Regions from separate parts of the Homo sapiens genome. Here all the other regions are linked to region 4. The links are contacts of gene promoters, found by promoter capture Hi-C in blood cells and fetal thymus (Javierre and others, 2016). All regions are on one chromosome and are shown on one strand. Each heading gives the region's core, a stretch centred on a gene start or on the middle of the fragment in contact. The rest is flanking DNA. Distances are from core to core; before and after follow the strand shown.

Region 1 (6,125 bases), core at 1,501-4,000, 180 kb before region 4:
TACCTTAAATCATCCCTACTGCTTACAATACCTAATACAATTTAAATGCTCTATAGTCATTATATTTAGGGAATAATGACAAAAGGTCTATGTGTGTTCAATACACATGCAACCATCCATTTTTTTCTTTGTTCCCTGAATATTCAACCCAAGGTTGGCTGAATCCTCAGATGCAGAATCCATGGATACAGAAAGCCAACTGTCTGTGTGTGTATACATACATTTTTGGCAACTTGCTTTTAAAACTCTATCAAACATTTTTCCAGGTCAACACAATTAGTCTGACTACTTTCACTCTTAGGAGCTCTATGGTATCTACCGTATGTAAGGAACCATATGGTATTCAAATATTCCTCATATGACCTCGTGGCAAGGATCAAGAAGGAGCCTCAAGTGCTCCAAGTCAGACCCACCTCCCCAGGCTTCCTCATTTCTATTAGCAGGAGTGAAGAAGGGCCCAGAACTCTGGGTGCTCTTGGCAAGATGCCTACCCTTTCCTCCTCCCAAGACTCCAGCTTCTCCACCATTTTCTGAGACTATCAGGTCTGATCTCATTAAAGCTTTTGTCCTTATTGGCTCAGTTATAAGAGGCTCAGGATTCCTGGGTCACCCCCTGCCTGATCCCACTCTAAACTTCCTCCACTTACATCCCTTTCTGAGTCCATCTCTTGCTTCTCCCCAACTTCTAGAGATCTTCCTCTGTGCCCTCTGGAACTCACCACAGAGGTTAGGGCAGAATTCCCTATGTCTTTTTTTCTTTGAGATGGAGTCTTGGGCTGGGCGTGGTGGCTCATGCCTGTAATCCCAGCACTTTGAGAGGCTGAGGCGGGTGGATCACGAGGTCAGGAGTTCAAGAACAGACTGAACAACATGGTGAAACCCCGTCTCTACTAAAAATACAAAAATTAGCCGGACGTGGTGGTGCATGCCTGTAGTTCCAGCTACTTGGGAGGCTGAGGCAGAAGAATCGCTTGAACCCGGGAGGCGGAGGTTGCAATGAGCCGAAATTGTACCACTGCACTCCAGCCTAGGGGACAGAGCAAGACTCTGTCTAAAAAAAAAAAAAAAAAAAAAAAAGAGAGAGAGAGATGGAGTCTTGCTCTGTCCCCTAGGCTGGAGTGCGGTGGTGCAATCTCGGCTCATTGCAGCCTCCGCCTCCCAGGTTCTAGTGATTCTCCTGCCTCAGCCTCCCCAGTAGCTGAGGCTATAAGCATGCACCACCACTCCTGACTAATTTTTGTATTTTTTTTTAGTAGAGACAGAGTTTCACTGTGTTGGCCAGGCTGGTATCGAACTCCTGACCTCAACTGATGGACCAGCCTCGGCCTTCCAAAGTGTTAGGATTATAGGCGTGAGCCACCGTGCCCGGCCAGAATTTCCTATGTATTAATGAACATTCCCTATACTTTTCTACTTCACCCTTTAACACTGGTCCTGGGGGTGGGAAGATGTCCTTCTCGCTGCTTCCAGACCATTCTCCTTTCATCTTCTCTGACACCCCATGGCATGGATGCTCAGGCCATCAGACCGTACCACGTGATACTTAAAGCAGTCATCTTCTGATCCCTGGATCTCTTAAATTTTAGTTCCCACTCTAACACTACCATCTGAATTGATAATTTTAATGCTTATGTAGATTTAATACTTGGCTTTTCAGTTTCTTCATCTCCACTTTTCCAATGAGCCTGTACTCCTCCCTCCTTCAGCCAGTTATTCTCGGACACATTAATCTTGCTACTAGTAATAGCAACCTGTTTGTAATGTTTCATGCATTCCTCACTCAACCAGATTTTCTCTAGTACCCTAACAATCCTACCCCATGGAAACATAGTCTTTTCAGTCTACCACTTTTCACACTCCTTTATCCCCTCAAGTTCTTTAGATTTGTTTTTCATTAACTTTTAAAAACTGACTTATAAAATTGTGTTTATTGGGGCCAGGTGTGGTGCCTCATTGCCTGTAATCCCAGCACTTTGGAAGGCCAATGTGGGTGGATCACCTGATTGGCCAACAAGGCAAAATTCCATCTTTACTAAAAATACAAAAATTAGCCAAGCATGGTGGAGCACGCTTGTAGTTCCAGCTACTTGGGAGGCCGAGGCAGGAGAATTGCTTGAACCTGGGAGGTGGAGGTTGCTGTGAGCCGAGATTGCACCACTGCACACCAGCCAGGGTGACAGGGCAAGACTGTCTTAAAAAAAAAAAAAAAAAAAAAAAAAAAGTATGTTTATTGTATCTAACATGATGTTTACAAATGTATACATTGCAGAATGACTAAATCAGACTAATTTACATATGTATTACATGTATTTTTGTGGTGTGAATATTTAAAATCTACTCATTGATTTTTCCGGAATATATTACAGTCAGGCACAGTGATACAGCCTGTAGTCCCAGCTACTTAGGATGCTGACGTGGGAGAATTGCTTGAGCCCAGGAGTTTGAGACCAGCCTGGGCAACATAGTGAGACCTCCTCTCTTAATAGATCTCTCTTTTTTTTTTTTTTTTGAGACAAAGTCTTGCTCTCTCGCCCAGGCTGGAGTGCAGCGGCACGATCATGGCTCAGTGCAAGCTCTGCCTCCTGGATTCACGCCATTCTCCTGCCTCAGCCTCCTGAGTAGCTGGGACTACAGGCGCCCACCACCACGCCCGGCTAATTTTTGTTTTTGCATTTTTAGTAGAGACGGGGTTTCACCGTGTTAGCCAGGATGGTCACAATCTCCTGACCTCGTGATCCGCCCGCCTCGGCCTCCCAAAGTGCTGGGATTACAGGCTTGAGCCACGGCGCCTGGCCAATAGATTAAATTTATTCCTCCTATTAAACTGAAATTGTGTATCTTTTCACCAACATTTCTCTTATCCCCTCCCACACCCCTAGCCCCTGGTAATCACTATTCTGTTCTCTGCTTCTATGAGTTCAACTTTTTTAGATTCCACATATAAGTGAGGTCATGTGGTATTTGTCTTTCCATGCCAGGCTTATTTCACTTAGCATAAAGTCCTCTAGGTTCACCCATGTTGTGGCAAATAAGTTCCTTTATTTTTTGAGACAGGGTCTTGCTCTGTCACTCAGGCTGGAGTATAATGGTGCAATATTGGCTTGCTGCAACCTTTGTATCCAAAGCTCTAATGATCTTGCTGCCTCAGCCTCCCAAGTAGCTAGGACTACAGGCATGTGCCACCATGCCTGGCTAATTTTTGTTTTGTATTTTTAGAGAAAGGGTTTTGTCATGTTGGCCAGGCTGGTCTTGAACTCCTGGACTCCAGCAATCTACCCGACTCAGCCTCCCAAAGTGCTGTGGTTACTGGCATGAGCCACTGCACCTGGCCAGAGCTTCCTTCTTTAAAGCTCAGTAGTATTCCATTGTGTATGTAGAACACATCTTCTTTATCCATTCATCCATTGATAGTTAGGTTGATTTCATATCTTGGCTGTTGTGAATAATGCTGCAATGAACATGAAAGTGCAGATATCTCTTTGACAGACTAATTTCGTTTCCTTTGGATATATACCCAGTAGTGGAATTGCTGGGTCACATGGTAGTTCTATTTAAGTTATTGAGGAGCTTCCATAGTATTTTCCATAATGGCTGTACTAATTTACATTCTCATCAACTTTGTGAGACTTCCTTTTTCTCCACATCCTCACACACACTTTTTTTTTTGGAGACGGAGTTTCGCTCTTGTTGTCCAAGCTGGAGTGCGATCCTGTGATCTTGGCTCATTGTAACCTCTGCCTCCCGGGTTCAAGCAATTCTCCTGCCTCAGCCTCCCAAGAGCTGGGATTACAGGAGGTGCAGGGCACCACGCCCGGCTAATGTTTTCTATTTTTAGTGGAAACGGGGTTTCACGATGTTAGCCAGGCTGGTCTCGAATTCCTGACCTCAGGTGATCCACCCGCCTCGGCCTCCCAAAGTACTGGGATTATAGGCATGAGCCACCGCACTTGGTCCATATTTATTCACTGTTTTGCTAATAGCCATTCTAACAAGGTGTGAGGTGATACCTCATTGTAGTTTTAATCTGCGTTTCCCTGATAATTAATGACACTGAGCATTTTTTCATATACCTGTCAGGCATATGTAAGTCTTCTTTTTGAGAAGTGTCTATTTAGGTCCTTTGCTCTTTAATTGGGTTATTTGTTTTCTTGCTATTGAGTTGTCTGAGTTCCTTATATTTTAGATATCCCTTATCAGACTATGATTTGCAAATAATTCTCCCCATTCTAAAGGTTGTCTTTTCACTCTTTTGATTGTTTCCTTTTCTGTGCAGGAGCTTTTTAGTTGGATGTAATCTCATTTGTCTGTTGTTGCTTTTGTTGCCTGTGCTTTTGAAGTCAGATTAAAAAAAAAAAATTGACCAGATCGATGTCATGGATCCCTGCTTTCTTCTAGTCGTTTTACAGTTTCAGGTCTTACATTTAAGTCTTTAGTTTATTTTTCTGTATTTCGTTATTTTATATGTGAACGTCCAGCATTTACTGAAGAGATTGTCCTTTGCCCATTATGTGTTCTTGGCACCTTTTGTCAAGAATCAGTTGACTGTAAATGCGTGGATTTATTTCTGGGAGCTCTGTTCTATTCCGTGGGTCTATGTGTCTGTTTTGATGCTAATATGCTGTTTGGTTACTATACCTTTGTAGTGTATTTTGAATTCAACTAGTGATATGGTTTGGATTTGTGTCCCCACCCAAATGTCATGTCGAATTGGAGGAGGGGCCTGGTGGGAGGTGATTGGATCATGGGGGTGGATTTCTCCCTTGCTGCTTTCCTGATAGTGAGTTCTCATGAGATCTAACGGTTTACAAGTGTGTGGCACTTCCCCCTTTGCTAGCATGCTCTCCGGTTACCATGTGAAGAAGCTGCTTGCTTCCCCTTTGCCTTCCACCATGAGTATAAGTTTCCTGAGGCCTCCCAGTCATGCTTCTTGTTAAGCTTGTGGAACTGTGAGTCAATTAAACTTTTTTTCATAAATTGCCCAGTGTCAGGTAGTTCTTTATAGCAGTGTGAGAATGCACTGATACAGTTAGTATGAAGCCTCAAGCTTTGTTCTTTTTGTTCAAGACTGCTTTGGGTATTTGGGGTCTTTTGTGGTTACATACAAGTTTTAGGATTGTTTTTTCTATCTCTGTGGAAAATATAATTGGAATTTTGATAGGCATTGCATTGAACCTGTAGATTGCTTTGGACAGTGTGAACATTTTAACAATATTCCTCCAATCCAGGAACACAGGATAGTTTTCCATTTAATTGTATCTTCAGTTTCTTTTATCTGCGTCTTACAGTTTTTGGTGTACCAGTCTTTCATCTCCTTGGTTAAATTTATTCCTAAGTATTTAACTTTGTGTAGCCATTGTAAATGGGATTGTCTTACTGACTTCTTGTATAGATAGGTCATTGTTTATATAAAACACTACTGATTTTTGTACGTTGATTTTTGTATCCTGCAACTTCATTCATTCATTAGTCCTGAAAGTTTTCTGGTGGACTCTTTAAGGTTTTCTATATGAGATCATAGCATCTGCAAACATGGACAATTTACCTTCTTTCTTTCCCGTCTGGAAGCCTCATTTTTTTCTCTTGCCTAACTGTTCTGGCTAGGACTTCCAATACTGTGTTGAATAGAAGTAGTGAGAGTGGACATTCTTGTCTTGTTCCTGATAGTAGATGAAAAGCTTTCTCTTTTTTTTTTTTTTTTTTTTTTTTTTTTGACACAGACTCACTCTGTTGCCCAGGCTGGAGTGCAGTGGCTCCATCTTGGCTCACTGCAACCTCTGCCTCCCAGGTTCAAGCAATTCTCCTGCCTCAGTCTCCCAAGTAGCTGGAATTACAGGGCTGCACCACCACACCTGGCTAATTTTTGTATTTTTAGTAGAGACAGGGTTCCGCCATGTTGGCCAGGCTGGTATTGAACTCCTAACCTCAAGTGATCCGCCTGCCTTGGACTCCCAAGGGACTGGGATTACAGGTGTTAGCCACTGTGCCCAGCCAGATAAAAAGCTTCCAACTGTTCACTATTAAGTATGTTAGCTGTGGGCTTGTCATATATGGCCTGCCTTGTGCTGAGGTACATTCTTTCTATATCTATTTTGAGAGTTTTTATTATGAAAAGATGTTGAGTTTTG
Region 2 (6,001 bases), core at 1,581-4,080, 200 kb after region 4:
GAGTAAAATTAGAAATTAACAGTGCAGTGGATCACATCTGTAATCCCAGCACTTTGGGAGGCTGAGGTGGGAGGACCACTTGAGCCCAGGAGTTCAAGATTAGCCAGGGCAACATAGTGAGACCCCATCTCTACAAAAATTTTAAAAATTAGCCTGGGGTGGTGGCATGTGCTTGTAGTCCCAGCAACTCAGGAGGCTGAGGTGGGAGGATCATTTGAGCCCAGGAGGTTGAAGCTGCAGTAAGCCATGGTCATGCCATTGCACTCCAGCCTGGGTAGCAGAGCAAGACCCTATCTCAAAAGGAAAGGGCAGGAGAGGAGAGTGGAGGGGAGGGGAGAAGGAGGGGAGGGACAGGGGAGGGGGAAGGGAGGGACAGGAAGGGAAGGGAAAAGAAAGAAAGAAAGAAATTAACAACAAAAAGTACATTGAGAACTTCATAAATATGTGGATATTGAACAGCACACTTTTTTTGTGTGTGTGAGTCAGAGTTTCCCTCTGTTGCCCAGGCTGGAGTGCAGTGGCGCGATCTTGGCTCACTGCAACCTCTGCCTCCCAGGTTCAAGCGATTCTCCTCCCTCAGCCTCCCAAGTAGCTGGGATTACAGGCACCCGCCACCACACCAGGCTAATTTTTGTAGTTTTTAGTAGAGACGGTGTTTCACCATGTTGGCCAGGCTGGTCTCAAACTCCTGACCTCAGGTGATCCTCCTGCCTCAGCCTCCCAGAGTGCTGTGATCACAGGTGTGAGCCACTGCACCAGCTGAACAGCACACTTTTAAATAACAAGTGGGCCAATTAAGAAATGACAAGGGAAATTAGTATCTTTTTCTTTTCTTTTTAATTGACATACAACAATTGTACATATTATGGGGTACATAGTGTTTTGAAAATATTTTGAAATGAATGAAAATGAAGACACAACATCTCAAAACTTATGGGATATAGTGAAGACAGTGCTTAGAGGGAAATTCATAGCTATAAATACCTATATTTAAAAAGAAGAAAGATGTCAAACCAATAACCTAAATTTACACCTTAAGAAACTACAAAAAGAAGAGTAAGCTAAACCCAAAACAAGCAGAGGAAGAAAATAATAAAGATTAAGGTAGAAAGTAATGAAATAGAGAATAAAAAACCGTAGAGAAAATCAACAAAACCAAGAGTCGGTTCTTAGAAAAGATCAACAAAATGGACAAATCTTTAGCTAGGCTGAAGAGAGAGGGAAGGAGACAGAGAACTCAAATTACAAAAATCTTTAGCTAGACTGAAGAGGGAGGGAGGGAGACAGATAGAGAACTCAAATTACAAAAATCAGTAATAAAGAGAGAGCATTACTACAACCTTACAGAAATAAAATAAAAGGACTATTAGGAAATGCTAAGAATAACTGTATGCCAACAAATTAGATAACATATATAAAATGGATACATTCCCAGAAAAACACAAAGTATCAAAACTAACTCAAGAAGGAATAGAAGATCTGAATAGACCTACAATAGATAAAGGTACTGAATTAGTAATTTTGAAAACTATCCACAAAGAAATGCCTAGGCTCAGATTCACTGGTGAACTCTGCCAAACAATTAGAGAATTTATACCAATTATTTGCAATTCATCAAAAAAATAGGGAAGGAGGTAACACTTTCTAATTCATTATGATGCCAGTACCACTCTGATACCAAAGGCATCACAAGAAAAGAAAATTATAGACCAATATCTCTTATGAACTTATAAACAAAAACCTCAATGAAATACTAGCAAACCAAATCCAGCAGCATTTAAAAAGGGTTATACAACACAACCAAATGGGATTAATCCTAGGAATGTAAAGTTCATTTAACATTTGAAAATGAATACTATATCATATCAATAGGATAAAGAAAAAAACACATACTCAGTAGATGCAAAATGAGCATTTAACAAAATTCAATACCATTCATGATAAAACCATTTGACAAACTAGGATTAAAAGAGCATTTCTTCAACCTAATAAAGGACTTCTACAGATATCCCACAGCTAATATCATACTTAATCATGAAAGACTGAGTCATGTCATCTCCCAATAAAGACAATTTGACTTCTTTCTCTCCAATCTGAGTGTCTTTTACTTCTTTTTGTTGCCCATTGCATTGAATATAACGTTTAGTATAATGTTGAATAAAAGTGGTAAGAGTGAAATCCTTGCATTCTGCCTGAAATTAGGGGGAATATATTCAATCATTTACCATTACATTTGATATTAGCTATTGGATTTTTGTAGATATCTTTTATTGGGTTGAAGATGTTCCCTTCCATTCCTCCTTTGATAACTAGATATGATTGGATGATGGAAATGGATTTGACTGGATTTTGTCAAATGCTTTTTCTGTACTTATTGAGAGGATTGCATGGTTTTACATTTTTTAGTTTGTTAATATGGTGAATATTATTAAATTTCTAATGTTAAACCAAGCTTGAATTCCTGAAATTCATGATGTATTATCTCTTGAAAATATTGTTGTATTTTACTTGCATAAGTTTTGTTAAGAATTTCTGCAATAATGTTGATGAGTTGGTCCATAGTTTTACTTCCTTGTAATGTTTTTTGTTTTGCTTTGTTTCAGAGACAAAGTCTTGCTCTGTCACCCAGGCTAGAGTGCAGTGGCATGATCACAGTTCACTATAATCTCAAATTCCTGGGTTCAATTGATCCTCCTGCCTCAGCCTCCTAAGTAGCTGGGACACCAGGTATGTGCCACCACAGCTGTCTAATTTTTTTACTTGTTATAGAGTCAGGGTCTCACTATATTGCCCAGGCTGGTCTCAAACCCCTGGCCTCAAGAGACCCTCCCACCTTGGCTTCCCAAAACACTGGAATTACAGGCATGAGCCACCATGCCTAGCCTTTTAAAATGTTTTTTTTTTTTTCTGGTTTTGTATAAGAGTAATGTTGACTTCAAAGTATGAGTTGGAATGTATTGCTACTTCTTCGAATCTTGGAAGAGTTTGTGTAGAATTGGTATTATTTCTTCCTTACATATTTGGTATTTCTCCTTATGAGAGATATTGAAAAAAATTTGGTAAAACTACCAGTGAAGCCAATATTCCATAGAATTAACCAGTGAAGCCATCTAAAATTTCTTTTGTGTGTACATGTTAAACTATAAATTCAATTTTGTTAACAGTTATAGGGCTGTTTAGGTGATCTATATCTTCTTGAATAAGCTTTGGTAGTTTGTGTCTTCCAAACAATTAGTCTACTTTATCTCATTGTCAAATTTATTGGAGAAAAATCTGTTTGTGATATACCCTTACTAATGTTTTAACAATGACGGATTCTATTGATCTCTCCTCTCCCTTTTTTTCTTTTTTTTGTTGAGATGGAGTCTCATTCTGTCACCCAGGCTGGAGTGCAGTAGTGTGATCTTGGCTCACTGCAACCTCCACATCCTGGGTTCAAGCGATTCTCCTTCCTGAGCCTCCCGAGTAGCTGGGACTACAGCCATATGCCACCACGCCCAGCTAATTTCTGTATTTTTTGGTAGAGACGAGGTTTCACCATGTTGGCCAGGCTGGTCTTGAACTCCTGACCTCAAGTGATCTGCCCACTTCAGCCTCCCAAAGTGCTGGGATTACAGATGTGAGCCACAGCACCCAGCCACCTCTCTCATTCTTGATATTGGTAATTTATGTCTTTTCTCTTTTCTTCCTTATTGGTCTGGCTAGAGATTTCCCAATTTTATTGATCTTCCCAAAGTACTAACTTTGGTTTCATTGTCTCTGTTTTAAATTTTGTTTGCTACTTCATTGATTTCTGCCTTAATCTTTAATATTTCTTTTCTTCTATTTTCTTCGAGTTTAATTTGCTCTTCTGTTTCTACTTTCCTAAACCTGAGGTCATTGATTTGAGAACTTTCATGTTTTCCAGTGCAGGTGTTTGGTGTTTGATGTTTGGTGTTTGGTGCTATAAACTTGAAAGTTCTGCTTTAATTGCATCTAGCACATTTTTATGAGTTATACTTTCTTTTTCATTCAATGCAAAATACTTTCTAGTTTCCCTTTTGAGTTCTTTTTTTTCCCATCAGTTATTTAGAAGCATATTTAGTTTCTAAATATTAGGGTATTTTCAGATATTTTTCTGATAGTGAGTTCTCATTTAATTCCATTGTGGTCAGAGAACATACTTTGCATGACTTAAGTCCTTATACATTGACTGAACTTGCTTTATGGACCAGAATATGGTCTATCTTGATAAAAGTTTCACGCAAACTTTAAAAAAACGTATTTTGCTGCTGTGTGATAGAGTGTTCCATAAATGTCAATTAGTTCAAGTTGTTTTTATAACATTGTTCAAGTCTTCTATACCTTTACTGATTTTGTTTACATAATGTATCAATCATTGAGAGACAGAGGTGCTGAAGTCTCTTGCTATAATTATGAATTGGTTTTTGAATTATGAACAAATTATGAATTTGTTCTCCTTGCAGTTCTGTCAACTTTTCCTTCCTGTATTTTGAATTTCTGCTATTATGGATATAAAAATTTAGGATTGTTTACACTGAAATTCATAGTAACATTGTTCACAATAGCCAAAAGGAGAGAACAACCCAAATGTTCATCAAAAATAAAATGTGGTATATCCATACAATGGAATATTATGCAGCCATAAAATGGAATGAAATTTTCATGTACACTGTAACATGAATGTACCATGAAAACATTATGCTTACTGAAATAATCCAGATAAATAAAGACAAATACTGTATGATTCCACATATATGAGGCATCTAAAGTAGCCAAATTTATAGAAACGGAAAATAGAATGGCAGTTGCCAGGGGCTGAGGGAAGAAGAAAAACATAAGTGTTTATTGTGTATAAAGTTTTAATTTTATAAGATGAAAAGGTTCTGGAGATGGATGGCAGTGATGGTTGCACAAGGTGAGTATACTTAACTGTGGGGAAAAGCAAGAGAGATCAGATTGTTACTGTGTCTGTGTAGAAAGAAGTAGACATAGGAGACTCCATTTTGTTATGCACTAAGAAAAATTCTTCTGCCTTGAGATTCTGTTAATCTATAACCTTACCCCCAACCCCGTGCTCTCTGAAACATGTGCTGTGTCAACTCAGAGTTGAATGGATTAAGGGCGGTGCAGGATGTGCTTTGTTAAACAGATGCTTGAAGGCAGCATGCTCCTTAAGAGTCATCACCACTCCCTAATCTCAAGTACCCAGGGACACAAAAACTGCGGAAGGCCGCAGGGACCTCTGCCTAGGAAAGCCAGGTATTGTCCAAGGTTTCTCCCCATGTGATAGTCTGAAATATGGCCTCGTGGGAAGGGAAAGACCTGACCGTCCCCCAGCCCGACACCCGTAAAGGGTCTGTGCTGAGGAGGATTAGTAAAAGAGGAAGGAATGCCTCTTGCAGTTGAGACAAGAGGAAGGCATCTGTCTCCTGCCTGTCCCTGGGCAATGGAATGTCTCGGTATAAAACCCGATTGTATGCTCCATCTACTGAGATAGGGAAAAACCGCCTTAGGGCTGGAGGTGGGACCTGCGGGCAGCAATACTGCTTTGTAAAGCATTGAGATGTTTATGTGTATGCATATCTAAAAGCACAGCACTTAATCCTTTACATTGTCTATGATGCAAAGACCTTTGTTCACGTGTTTGTCTGCTGACCCTCTCCCCACAATTGTCTTGTGACCCTGACACATCCCCCTCTTCGAGAAACACCCACAAATGATGAATAAATACTAAGGGAACTCAGAGGCTGGCGGGATCCTCCATATGCTGAACGCTGGTTCCCCGGGTCCCCTTATTTCTTTCTCTATACTTTGTCTCTGTGTCTTTTTCTTTTCCAAATCTCTCGTCCCACCTTACGAGAAACACCCACAGGTGTGTAGGGGCAACAAGATGAAAAGGTTCTGGAGATGGATGGCAGTGATGGTTGCACAAGGTGAGTATACTTAACACTACTGAATTGTACATTTAAAAATATTTAAGATGGTAAATTTTATGTTA
Region 3 (5,316 bases), core at 762-3,261, 180 kb after region 4:
GGATAAAAACAGGCAGAAAGACCTCCCATGCTCATAGATGGAAGAATCAATATTGTTAGAATGACCATACCACTCAAAGCAATCTACAGATTCAGTGCCATTCTTATTAAAATACCAAAGACATTCTTCAATGAAATAGAAAAGAAAATCCTAAAATTTGTATGGAATCACAAAAGACCCCAAATAGCCAAAGCAATCCTGAGCAAAAGGAACAAAGCTGGAGGTATCACACTACCAGACTTCAAAACATACTACAAAGCTATAGTAACCAAAACAGCACAATAGACACAAACTAGTGGAACAGGGAATGCAAAAATTAATCCATGTATCTATAGCCAACTGATTTTTGACAAAGGTGCCAAGATCACTCACTGGGGAAAGGACAATCTCTTCAATAAATAGTGCCAGGAAAACTGGGTATCCATATGCAGAAGAACAAAGCTAGACACTCATCTCTCATGCTATACAAAAATCAACTCAGAGTGGATCAAAGAACTAAAGGTAAGACCCAAAATATAAAACTACTAGAAGAAAACATAGGGGAAATGCTTTAGGACATTAGTCTGCGGAAATATTTTATGAATAAGACCTCAAAAACACAGGCAACAAAAGCAAAAATAAACAAATGGGATTACATCAAACTAAAAAGCTTCTGCATAGCAAAGGAAACAATAGAGTGAAAAGACAACCTACAGAATGGGAGAAGATATTTGCAAACTATTCATCTGACAGGAGATTCATATTCAGAATATACAAGGAATTTAAACATCTCAACAGCAAAAAAACAAAAAACAAATCTGATTTTAAAATGGTGATTTGAACAGATATTTCTCAAAAGAAGACATACAAATGGGCCAACAAATAGATGGAAAAAATGCTCCATGTAACTAATCATCCGGGAAATGCAAATCAAAGCCACAGTGGAGTATCATCTCACCCCAGCTAGAATGGCTGTTATCAAAAAGACAAAAAACAAATGCTGGCAAGGATGTGGGGAAAAGGGAACTCTTATACACTGCTGGTGAAAATGTAAACCAGTAAGCCCGGGCACAGTGGCTCATGCCTGTAATCCCAGCACTTTGGGAGGCCGAAGCGGGCAGATCTCCTGAGGTCAGGCGTTCAAGACCAGCCTGGCCAACATGGTGAAACCCCATCTCTACTAAAAATATAAAAAATTAGGCCTGGTGGCAAGCTCCTGTAATCCCAGCTACTCGGGAGGCTGAGGCCGGAGAATCGCTTGAACCTGGGAGGTGGAGGTTGCAGTGAGCTGAGATCATACCACTGCACTCCAGCCTGGGTGACAGAACGAGACTCCATCTCCAAAAAAAAAAAAAAAAATGTAAACCAGTAAAGCCACTATGGAGACCAGTATGGAGGCTCCTCAAAAAACCACAAGTAGAGCTACCATAAGATCCAGCAATCCCACTACTGGACATTTATCCAAAGGAAAGGAAATCGGTCTATCAAGGAGATCTGCATCCCCATGGTTACTGCAATACTATTCACAATAGCCAAGATATGGAATCAACCTAGGTGTCCATCAACAGATTAATGGATAAAGAAAATGTGGTATGTACACAATGAAATGTTATTCAGCCATAAAAAGAATGAAATCCTGTCATTCGTGGCAACATGGATGGAACTGGAGGACATTACGTTAAGTGAAACAAGCCAGGGATAGAAAGTTAAACACTGCATTTTCTCACTCATGTGGAAGCTAAAAAAAAGTTGATCTCATGGAAGTTGAAAGTAAAACTTTCTACTAGAGGCTGGGAAGGGTGGGGAAAGGGTGGCAAAAGGAGACCTTTGTTAAAGGATACAAAATTACAGCTAGATAGGAGGGAAAGTTCATCAGTTCTCTGAATAAACCACTGTAAGATGACTATAGTTAACAAGAACACGTAGTTTCAAATAGCCAGGAGGATATTGAATATTCACAACACTAATAAAAGATAAATGCTTGAGATGATGGATATGTGGAATATGGAATTATCCTAATCTGATCACCACGTATTATATGTTTGAAACATCACTATGTACCTCATAAATAGGATTATTATGTATTAATTTAAAAAAAGATGAAGGGGAAACTTCATCTTGAGGTTACTAGACTATGAAGTCAGGACCAATGTGTGTATATAGAGTAGAGGAGGTTTCTTAGGGAAATGGGCTTTTCAACAAGACCATGAACTTTTTTGGTTTAGAAGGAACAGGGGGAGGAATAGAAAAACTCTCAGTGCTCCAAAATAGGGACGGAGCAGGGTCTGTTAGAGATAGGGGCTCTCGCTTGAATTTCTTGGGTGTGCTACTTCTGGAAGCAGGGCAGGCAGTAATGCTTGGAGTTCTTGGGGTGGGGGATAAGGAACTAGCGGCTGTGTGGCCCTGGCTATCAGAGAGGACAAGAAGATGTGCACTCAGCTAGGGGCATGGGGCACATTCAGATCAAGATCAAGGGACTCTGGAATCCACGTTTCTGCCCTCAGCGGCTCCACCTTGGGTTCTCGGCAGAGCCCAAGCACCACTAAGTGGCACTAGAGGGAGACTGAAATGCTGGAAGATGGGAGAAGGCAGCAGCTTCATCCTGTTCTGCTCTCCATTCCCGCCAACGTCACCACAGCATCTGTTCTTTACCCTGAGAGTGACACTTTTTTTTTTTTTTTTTTTTTTTTTTGAGTCAGCGTCTGGCTCTGTCGCCCAGGCTGGAGTGCAGTGGCACTGTGTCGGTTATAGCCACCTCCCAGACTCAAGCGATCCTCCCACCTCAGCCTCCCAAGTAGCTGGGATCACAGGCCCAATCTACCACGCCTGGCTAATTTTTGTTTTTGTTTTTTTGTAGAGACAGGGTTTTGCCATGTTGCCCAGGCTGGTCTTGAACTCCTGGACTCAAGCAACCCACCCGCCTCGGCCTCCAACAGTGCTGGGATTAGAGGCATGAGCCATTGTGCCTGGCCCTCTGAGAGTGACACTTTTTATGCTCCCCAAGCCAGCTTCATCACCCCCATCAGAGAAAGCAGCAGCAGCCAGGCAGTGCCCACTCCATAAGGATCTGGGTCCTGGCTCTCAGGACCATCCATCCACCTTCTAAGGCACCAGCACCCGCCTGGCAGTGCCCTCTCCTCGGAAGCCTGAGCTGAGGTTTCCCCCTAGACTCCCCTATCTATTCCTAGGTTCTAATAAACCCACCTCTCCCCCTTGTTCTCCCAGTCCTTGGGGTGGGAGTTACTTCCTGAAGTTACAATGTCTGTCTTTTGTCCTTTCCTCCAGTATTTGTTAATTCTCTCTGTTAAATTCTCTCTGCTAAGATAACTATTGTGGTTGCTGTTTTCCTGAATGGACCATGATTGATATGCTTACTAAACAATTCAAAGCTTCCTGGGGCTCAGTGGGGCCATGGATGGCTTCTGGAGGACCTCAGATCAAATGGGAGAGACTAGGGCAAAGATCATAAGGAAAAAATGGAGAGGGTCAGGCCAGATTTGACTGGCTGGGAGACAGAATCCCATGTGGACTGTGGGAAGCATCTGAAAGGATTACTATCTCTAAAGAGTTATTTTCAGCATCAAATCCTCTACAAGACCCCCAAACTCATCTTGTCCCTCCAGTCCCTTCCTAGGCAGCATCCCTAAAACCCCACCCCTTCGCCTGTGGCAGGACCCTGTCTTGTCCTCATTTCTGCACACTTATGTCACTGTTCATCTCCTCCCACCCTCAGGCCTCACAGGACTTATTTGTGGTCACCATATCAGACTGGGTTAGCTCAGTGTGGGGGCTGCTGGCACTTTGTTCATTGCTGCAACACTACTACCTGGCACATCACCCGGTTACTTCTCTTGGTTTGTCCCTGGGTTGCCACAAAGAACTTTCTCCTTCCAGCAGTTTCCTCATGCATTGCCCCAGGGTTTCTGTAGGCATCCTATCCGGGAATACTGCTTGACCCAGATTTCAAGATCACCTGGAAGGCTCTGGCAGTCTTTTCTTATAATATCCACTTTCATCAGGGTGTCCACCAGACAAATAAGTATTTCCAATTCAGGTGGTAGAAGTGGAAATTGTCATTTAAGATTCTGTTAATCTAGGATTATGTCCTCTTCTTTCTCACAGACAACAGGAACTTCGCTCCTAAGCTCCAGAAGTGATTTTGAAACATCTTTCAGTTATAGGCAGGGCTGAGCTTGTGGATGTGTGACCTGTGTAAATCACACAGGTCCCTGTGGTTGGTTTAATGCTCTGTTGTCCCCATCTTGAAATTCTTAATCATTTTTGAAGAAAAGGTCCTGCAATTTGATTTTGCACTGGGCCCTGCAAATTATGTATCTGATCCTGGATATATGGTGTGTGAAATCCTAGCAAAAGGCTATAGAGAACATTTGCATATTGAACTATGAACACAACTTGCCCCACATACTGTTCGCTCTAAACCCTGGGCTTCTGCTTGGGACAGGAAAATGATGGGAGAGTACAGCTCCCTGGAGCTGGGTCTCTATTAGACATGAGAGTCTCTGGTCCAGGCTCTGGGTAGGACAGCCAGGTCTGTCCCCATCATCTCCAGATTGTAGCATCATTTCTCCCCTACATCCAACTGCATCCTCAACAAGTGTGTGGCAGCCAGGTAGTAACAGGCAGAAGGGACAGAGCACAGGAACCAGGGGCTCATCACGGACAATCAGCATCTGCCTCTTGGCCAATGGCTACTACTTCGAAGTCTAATCGACGTCTTGAATTCACATCACAAAAGCTAAATTCTGGCACTCTCTCCATTTCTCACCACTTCCACTGCGGCCACCCTGGTCAAAGCTGCTGTTGTCTCTTGTGTGGATCATTTGCCATGGCATCCTGACTAGTCTCCCTCTTCCCATGTTTGCCCCCTCCAGTCCATTCTCAGTACAGTAGCCAGGCCATGCTGTTAAAGCAACCATAATTGACTCCTTTGAGGCAAAAAGAAATGCTATTGATAATTACAATGGATAACAGGAGTAAGCCAGTACTGGCCCTGGCAAACCAGAACATGTGATCACCTTGATTAAAACTAAGTCAGATTTCGTTCCTCCTCTGCTCAAAACCCTCTTTTAGTCCATTTTCTGTTGCTGTAACAGAATACCACAGACTGGGTAATCTATAAACAAAAGAAGTTTATTTAGCTCACAATTCTGCAGGCTGGGAATTCCAAGGACGTGGTGCCAGCATCTGGTGAGGGCCTTTTACCTTCATCCTAACATGGCAGAGGGCACCACATGGCAAGAGGGCAAAACGAAGCATGTGCAAGAGAGAGCTCACTTTGATAACAAAGGCATTCCCATGAGTACTCACTCCCCTGAT
Region 4 (5,526 bases), core at 3,027-5,526:
GATAAAATACTTACAAAGTGTGTTAAGAATGATTAAGGTGCAGGGCGCAGTGGCTCACGCCTGTAATCCTATCACTTTGGGAGGCCGGGTCAGGCAGATCACCTGAGGTCGGGAGTTTGAGACCAGCCTGATAAACATGGAGAAATCCCGTCTCTACAAAAAACAAAATTAGCCCCAAGCTTATTGGGCATGGTGGCGCATGCCAGTAATCCCAGCTACTCGGGAGGCTGAGGCAGGAGAATTGCTTGAACCCGGGAGGCGGAGACTGCAGTGAGCAGAGGTCGCACCACTGCACTCCAGCCTGGGCAACAAGAGCGAAACTCTGTCTCAAAAAAAAGAATGATTAAGGTAACAGGTGAGTGACTGGAGAGAATAACCGGAGGGGCCAATTTTTAAGAGTGGTCTCTAAGCCCTAAGGGATCAGAAAGAGAAATTCGTGTGAAGAACGGAGAGAAAAGCACTCTAGGATTAGGGAATGGTATACGTGGGGGTCACAGCACAGGGAAGTCAGGAACCTAGAGAAGACAAATGTGACTACAGCGCTTCCTCTCCCGGGATTTGCGGAGCAAGGCTGGAGCTCGTGAGGGTGACCACAACTATTTTAAAAACGACAAAGATAAGGCTCAAGAGAGGGGATATGTCTTGCCCAAGGTCACAGCTGCTCAGAGGAGTAGCTGGGACCAGGGCCCTTCAGTATTCTACCTCCAGACCCAGCCTAAGCCCACGCTCTCTGAGAAGGCCTTGTATACACTGAACTCCCTCATGTATTTCACTGACAACTGTTTTCTGTGCCCATGAAGAGTTGCAAGAGCACCTTGAAAACACAAGCAAACATATCATATCAACTTCCAGGCATCTAATTAATTGTGCACCAAAATCGTTACCCTTCCAATCTTGCAACAGAAGAGCAAAAGCTGCTTAGACCTTACTCAAAGGCTCCAAAGCAGAAACAAGTTTTGCTTCTTGCAGCAATGTGTAACAGAGGAAACAGATGTCCTGGAAGATCCCATGGTCTGTTTCAGGTGAGATGGAACCAATGCTGCACACGAAGATTCATCTCAAATGAAATGCACAGGAAAAGCCAATTACTTTATGTGAATAAAAGAATAAATCCCTAAAGCAGTGGTTCTCAACCAGAGTGATACCACCCACACCCCAGAGGGCATTTGGGAATTCTTGGGGACATTTTGGGGTGACACACTGAACTGCTGGATGCTATCAGCATTTAGTAGGTATGCTCGATGTCTTGCAGAAGGACATGATGGTCCTACACAGTAAGGAATGGATTACCTACAATATTAATAGCAGCCTCCCATACACACTTTTGACACCCTTCCCTAAAGGATTAATATGCTCCAACCTTCCTGTCCCCACAGTTCAGTGGCTCTCCCTACCCTCACCATGATCGGATGAAAAAAAATAAGGTTTCACAGCTTAAGAGTGAAATTCTGGAATCCAACTACAAGCTCATAACTGTAGCATGGAACCTGGTAGTAGCATAATAAATAAATTTTTAGTAAGAGGCTTAAGAAATTTTAGCAAAAAAAGCACTCCCTTTCTTCCTCCCTACATATCTCATATGTTTTTCAACACAAAAAATTCTGTGATTTTAGAGAAACTTCTTACAGTACTTTTAAGTTCAAAACCAGATGCTCATTACAGTTCTTTTAAACACCAAACTAGTCATCTCAAAAATATGGCTAACTCTCTGGACTAAATTCCATAGGAAAAATTATTAATTTCAAAATGCCTAATTTTGATCAAATGCCTGAAAGAGCCAAAGGCAATCATGTCCTGCTTCTCACTCAGGGCAGAGTTCCATGAGGTCAGAAAAGCTCCAATGATATCCGGAGGTCTGTCAGAGATTAAAATATCATCCTAACAATTCACAAGCTACTTCTAAGTGTTACCCTAAATTAGTCACTAATCGTTTCTCCCCCAACACTATTTCACAAATTAAAGTTTACAGAATTGACAAAAAACCAAACCAAATGAAAACAAACCCCAGGCTATTTGCAGGGGGGGGGAAAGAGATACCCCAAAAGTCAACCCTATTTCACAGTAGTTAAAAGAGTGATCCAACAGATATTACCCTCCATAAAGTACCCTAAAGGCAGGAGCAATCTTTCCCCTACACTATCTAAATTTTCCCAACTCACCCAAAAGAATCTTAAGATGTAACTTCATCACTCAACTTGCCAATTAGCAAATAGCGGCCCCCACATCCCTTTTGGCCAATTTTCTAGATGCCTGACCTAGCAGACAGACCTGTTTTCCTCCTGCCAGGCCTTTTTTGCCCTCCCGCTAGGAGCCTGGGAAATCCCCCTCCAACCTTTTGCTGGCCTGTCACCAGAAGTTCATAAAATGAATTCATCCAGATTCTCTGAATCCTCCTTTTCCCCAGTCATGTGCCAACAGCCAGGCAATAATGCCCCACCGTGACAGGCTCCCTGTTACAAAAAGATGCAGATTCACGGGAAGACCAAGCACTTAGCATGGAGCAGAAGAAAAAAAGATGGAGGGAGGCGAGAGTCGCGGAGCCAAGCCTGCTGCATGCAGTACGGGTGACCACAGCCCGGGTCCTGCAAAGCCCCCGCGAGACTCGCCGGCTGGGCCCTCCGTACAGCAGCCACACCTGTCTATGCCAGCCGCCTGCCGGCTGCTCCATTTTAAACATTTCAAACAGATCTCCAGCAGGGTGGCAAAACTGGGCACCTCTCTCTCCCAGCAAGAGTGAGAGCCCTAATCCAGGCATCACTTGCCCCTGATTTTATTTCATTTTCACACACTCTGTTTAGGAGACACTGCTTGCTCCAACTGGCTCCATCTCTCCGTTACCGGTGAGGCAGGCACAGTGCTGCAGTGGCAGAATGGAAGTACCCAGGCTGACTTGCTCTCAGCCAGACACGACCTCTTCTCTGAGGAGGGTGATGCCAATAAATGGAACTCCAATAGGTAGGCTTCGCTCTGCCCTTCCACAAGTGAACACACGCCGTGAGTCCCTAAATCGCCAGGCTCCGCAGCCTCGCAGAAAGCCTAGTTTCCAGACGGTAGGTATCCCATTTATCCCTTGGCATCGGGAACCAAAGGGAATGCAGACAGATCCCGGTCGTGCACTACATTCCCAAACCTTGGCACGCACGCGAAGGCTTGGGGCGCCCCGGCGCGCCCTCCCTCCGAGGCCTCCACCACCCGCGGACTCACCACTATGCGAGCTGAACCACCTGGGTGCGATGTGCAGAGGTAGAGCATCCGCCAGCGAGGCTCGGGAGCCCAGGTACAGCATCCCGTCTCTATGGTGACCGCCGCCCGTCTCCTGGTAACCATTGCCATGGGCATAGGTGGAGTCGGACGCAGACCCTCCGCCGCCGGGCGCCCTCTCGGAGTCGCCGGTGCCCCGGGAGGCGGGGGTGTAGAGGCCAAAGGGCACCCCCCCGGCCGTGCTGGGGTCCATGCCCATGCCTGCCACCGAGCTGACCGAGCGGCTGCGCAGCCCCATGGCCCCGCCGCCCGTCCGGTAGTGCCCGAAATGGGGCGCCCCTCCCGGCGGCGGCACGGCGCTGTCATCGGTGGAGACCCCCGGGAAGGGGCCCCGGGAGCGGGCCGCCGTGCTCTGCTTGCCCCCCATGCTCGCCCGGGCCCCGGTGGGGCGGGAACCTGGAGGCCGAGACCCTCCCCCACTTCTCAGCAGCAGGGGGAGGGCTGGGCGAGCATAAAGGGGGAGGGAGTCAAAAAGGAGACCCGGAGGGAGAAAAGGAAAAAAAGCAAAAGGAAAAAAGGAAAAAACCCGCGGGGCGGAAGAGGCAGGCGGGCGGGCGGGGATCCCAAACTCAGAATTTCAAACGATCCAAGGCAAACGCATGTTTCCCCTCAAGGTCCAAAGAGGCGCAGTCCGGCGCGGGCTCCGCGCGCCACAGGCCGCCCCCGGGCTCCGAAAGCCGGGGGAGCCGCAGGGAAGGAGGGAGGGAGGCGGCGGCGAGCGGCGGGCGGGCGCGGGGAGGCGCCGGAGGAGGCCGCCCGCCCCGCGGGAGGAGGCGGAGGAGGGCCGGGGGCGCCGGGCGCGTCCCCCGCCTCAGGACGCCGCGACCATGGACGGCGGCCCGGACCCCTCCAGGCCTCGGGCGGGCCGCGGCGCTGGGCGGCCAGGCGCAGCTCGGGAAGCCGCGGTCGCGTCGCGTCGCGCTCTCGCTTCAGCCGCCGCCGGCCCCGCCAGCCGCGCCGCCCCGCTCGGTCCCGGGCTGCGCTCGCCGGCGCTCCTCGCCGCCGTGGAGACAATGGAGGGCGGCAGAGCGCAGGCGCGGCCCGCGCCCCCTCCCCCTCCCCCCGCCGGGTTAACCCTTTCGCGGTCCCTGCGGCGCCTGGGCCGCTGACGCCCCAGCAGTCCCCACCCACCGCCCGCCCCCGGCCGGCCTGTGACCTGGGCGGCCTGACCACTGGGCGTTAGCCACAGAAACCAGATGTCTTTCAAAAGCAAACACTTCTTAAGTCCCCGAAAGTGGCAAATTATTCAGGGGGAACCAAGTATGGGGGAGGGGCAGCAATGGTTCGAGGGGGTGGGAAGGAAACACCGGGAAGAAGGAGATTTACTCCTTACGCCTACCTGGCTCTGAGGGTCACCGGTCGAGCTCCCCTCCTGGCACAAATTTGCCCCCACAGCACCCTCTGGTGGACGTGATGTCCATTCTTTCGGGGGTTCCCCATCCAAGCACCCCTCACGTCCGGAATCTCAACATTTGGCGGGGTTTAGTTATTTGGGGGTAAACAGCGCCATGGGGACACTTGTGAATCCGGCGTTTTGCTGACACTAGATCATAACTTCCTATTTTGGGCTTAAGCAAATGAGTAGATTCCTTAGCTAAAATGTAATTTTCAGAATCAATAGATGTACCATAAAAAGTGAATAGATATGGGTATGGAAATAGAACAACGCAGCTAGAAGTGATTATAGAAACCTTCTGTCCAAGGCTGGAGCCCTGTTTTGTTTACCATGTGCTGTGTTTCGGCCCTCACCACGGGCCAAGGACACGGTGGGTACTCAATAGGTGTATTGTTGACCAAGCCTGAATCATTTGCAAGGGAGTGTTCCTTTGCTACCTCAAGCCGTCTTTCTCCTATATTCACATTCATTTATTGAACAACTGTTTTTTTTGTTTTGTTTTGTTTTTGTTTTTGAGACGTAATCTCGCCCTGTCACCCAGGCTGGAGTGGTGTGGCGTAACCTCGGCTCACCGCAACCTCCGCCTCCCGGATTCAAGTGATTCTCCTGCCTCAGCCTCCCGAGTAGCTGGGATTACAGGCACATGCCACACTGCACCTGGCTAATTTTTTGTATTTTTAGTAGAGGCGGGGTTTCACCGTATTGGCCAGGCTGGTCTTGAACTCCTGACCTCAGGTAATCCACCTGCCTTGGCCTCCCAAAGTGTTAGGATTACAGGCATGAGCCACCGCGCCCGCCCTGTTTTTCTTTTTCTTTTTTTTCTTTTCTTTTTTTTTTTTTTTGAGACGGAGCCTTGCTCCTCCCAGGCT

Evidence for each region. The method cuts DNA at HindIII sites, captures the fragments that hold promoters and counts their contacts. A CHiCAGO score of 5 or more calls a contact.
Region 1: a fragment that was not itself captured here is called in contact with the fragment with the promoter of ZNRF1 in region 4 in 2 of 17 cell types (M1 macrophages and M0 macrophages); the score reaches 6.0 in M1 macrophages.
Region 2: a fragment that was not itself captured here is called in contact with the fragment with the promoter of ZNRF1 in region 4 in 1 of 17 cell types (M1 macrophages); the score reaches 5.5 in M1 macrophages.
Region 3: a fragment that was not itself captured here is called in contact with the fragment with the promoter of ZNRF1 in region 4 in 1 of 17 cell types (fetal thymus); the score reaches 5.2 in fetal thymus.

What each region holds. Positions count from the first base shown.
Region 1 is chr16:75,180,561-75,186,685 of GRCh38, reverse strand. No RefSeq gene overlaps it. Among named protein-coding and RNA genes, the nearest start is that of CTRB2, 24 kb to the left of the region's middle. The HindIII fragment of the contact is 4,375 bases long and covers 563-4,937 here.
Region 2 is chr16:74,799,293-74,805,293 of GRCh38, reverse strand. No RefSeq gene overlaps it. Among named protein-coding and RNA genes, the nearest start is that of FA2H, 27 kb to the right of the region's middle. The HindIII fragment of the contact is 752 bases long and covers 2,455-3,206 here.
Region 3 is chr16:74,815,227-74,820,542 of GRCh38, reverse strand. No RefSeq gene overlaps it. Among named protein-coding and RNA genes, the nearest start is that of FA2H, 43 kb to the right of the region's middle. The HindIII fragment of the contact is 2,719 bases long and covers 652-3,370 here.
Region 4 is chr16:74,997,774-75,003,299 of GRCh38, reverse strand. It overlaps ZNRF1 (zinc and ring finger 1), which reads right to left and starts at 4,276. Exons shown (of 5, transcript NM_032268.5): 1 at 3,205-4,276. The coding sequence starts at 3,628. RefSeq lists an enhancer at 2,405-2,464 and silencers at 3,255-3,564, 3,965-4,484. The HindIII fragment of the contact is 6,289 bases long and covers 182-5,526 here.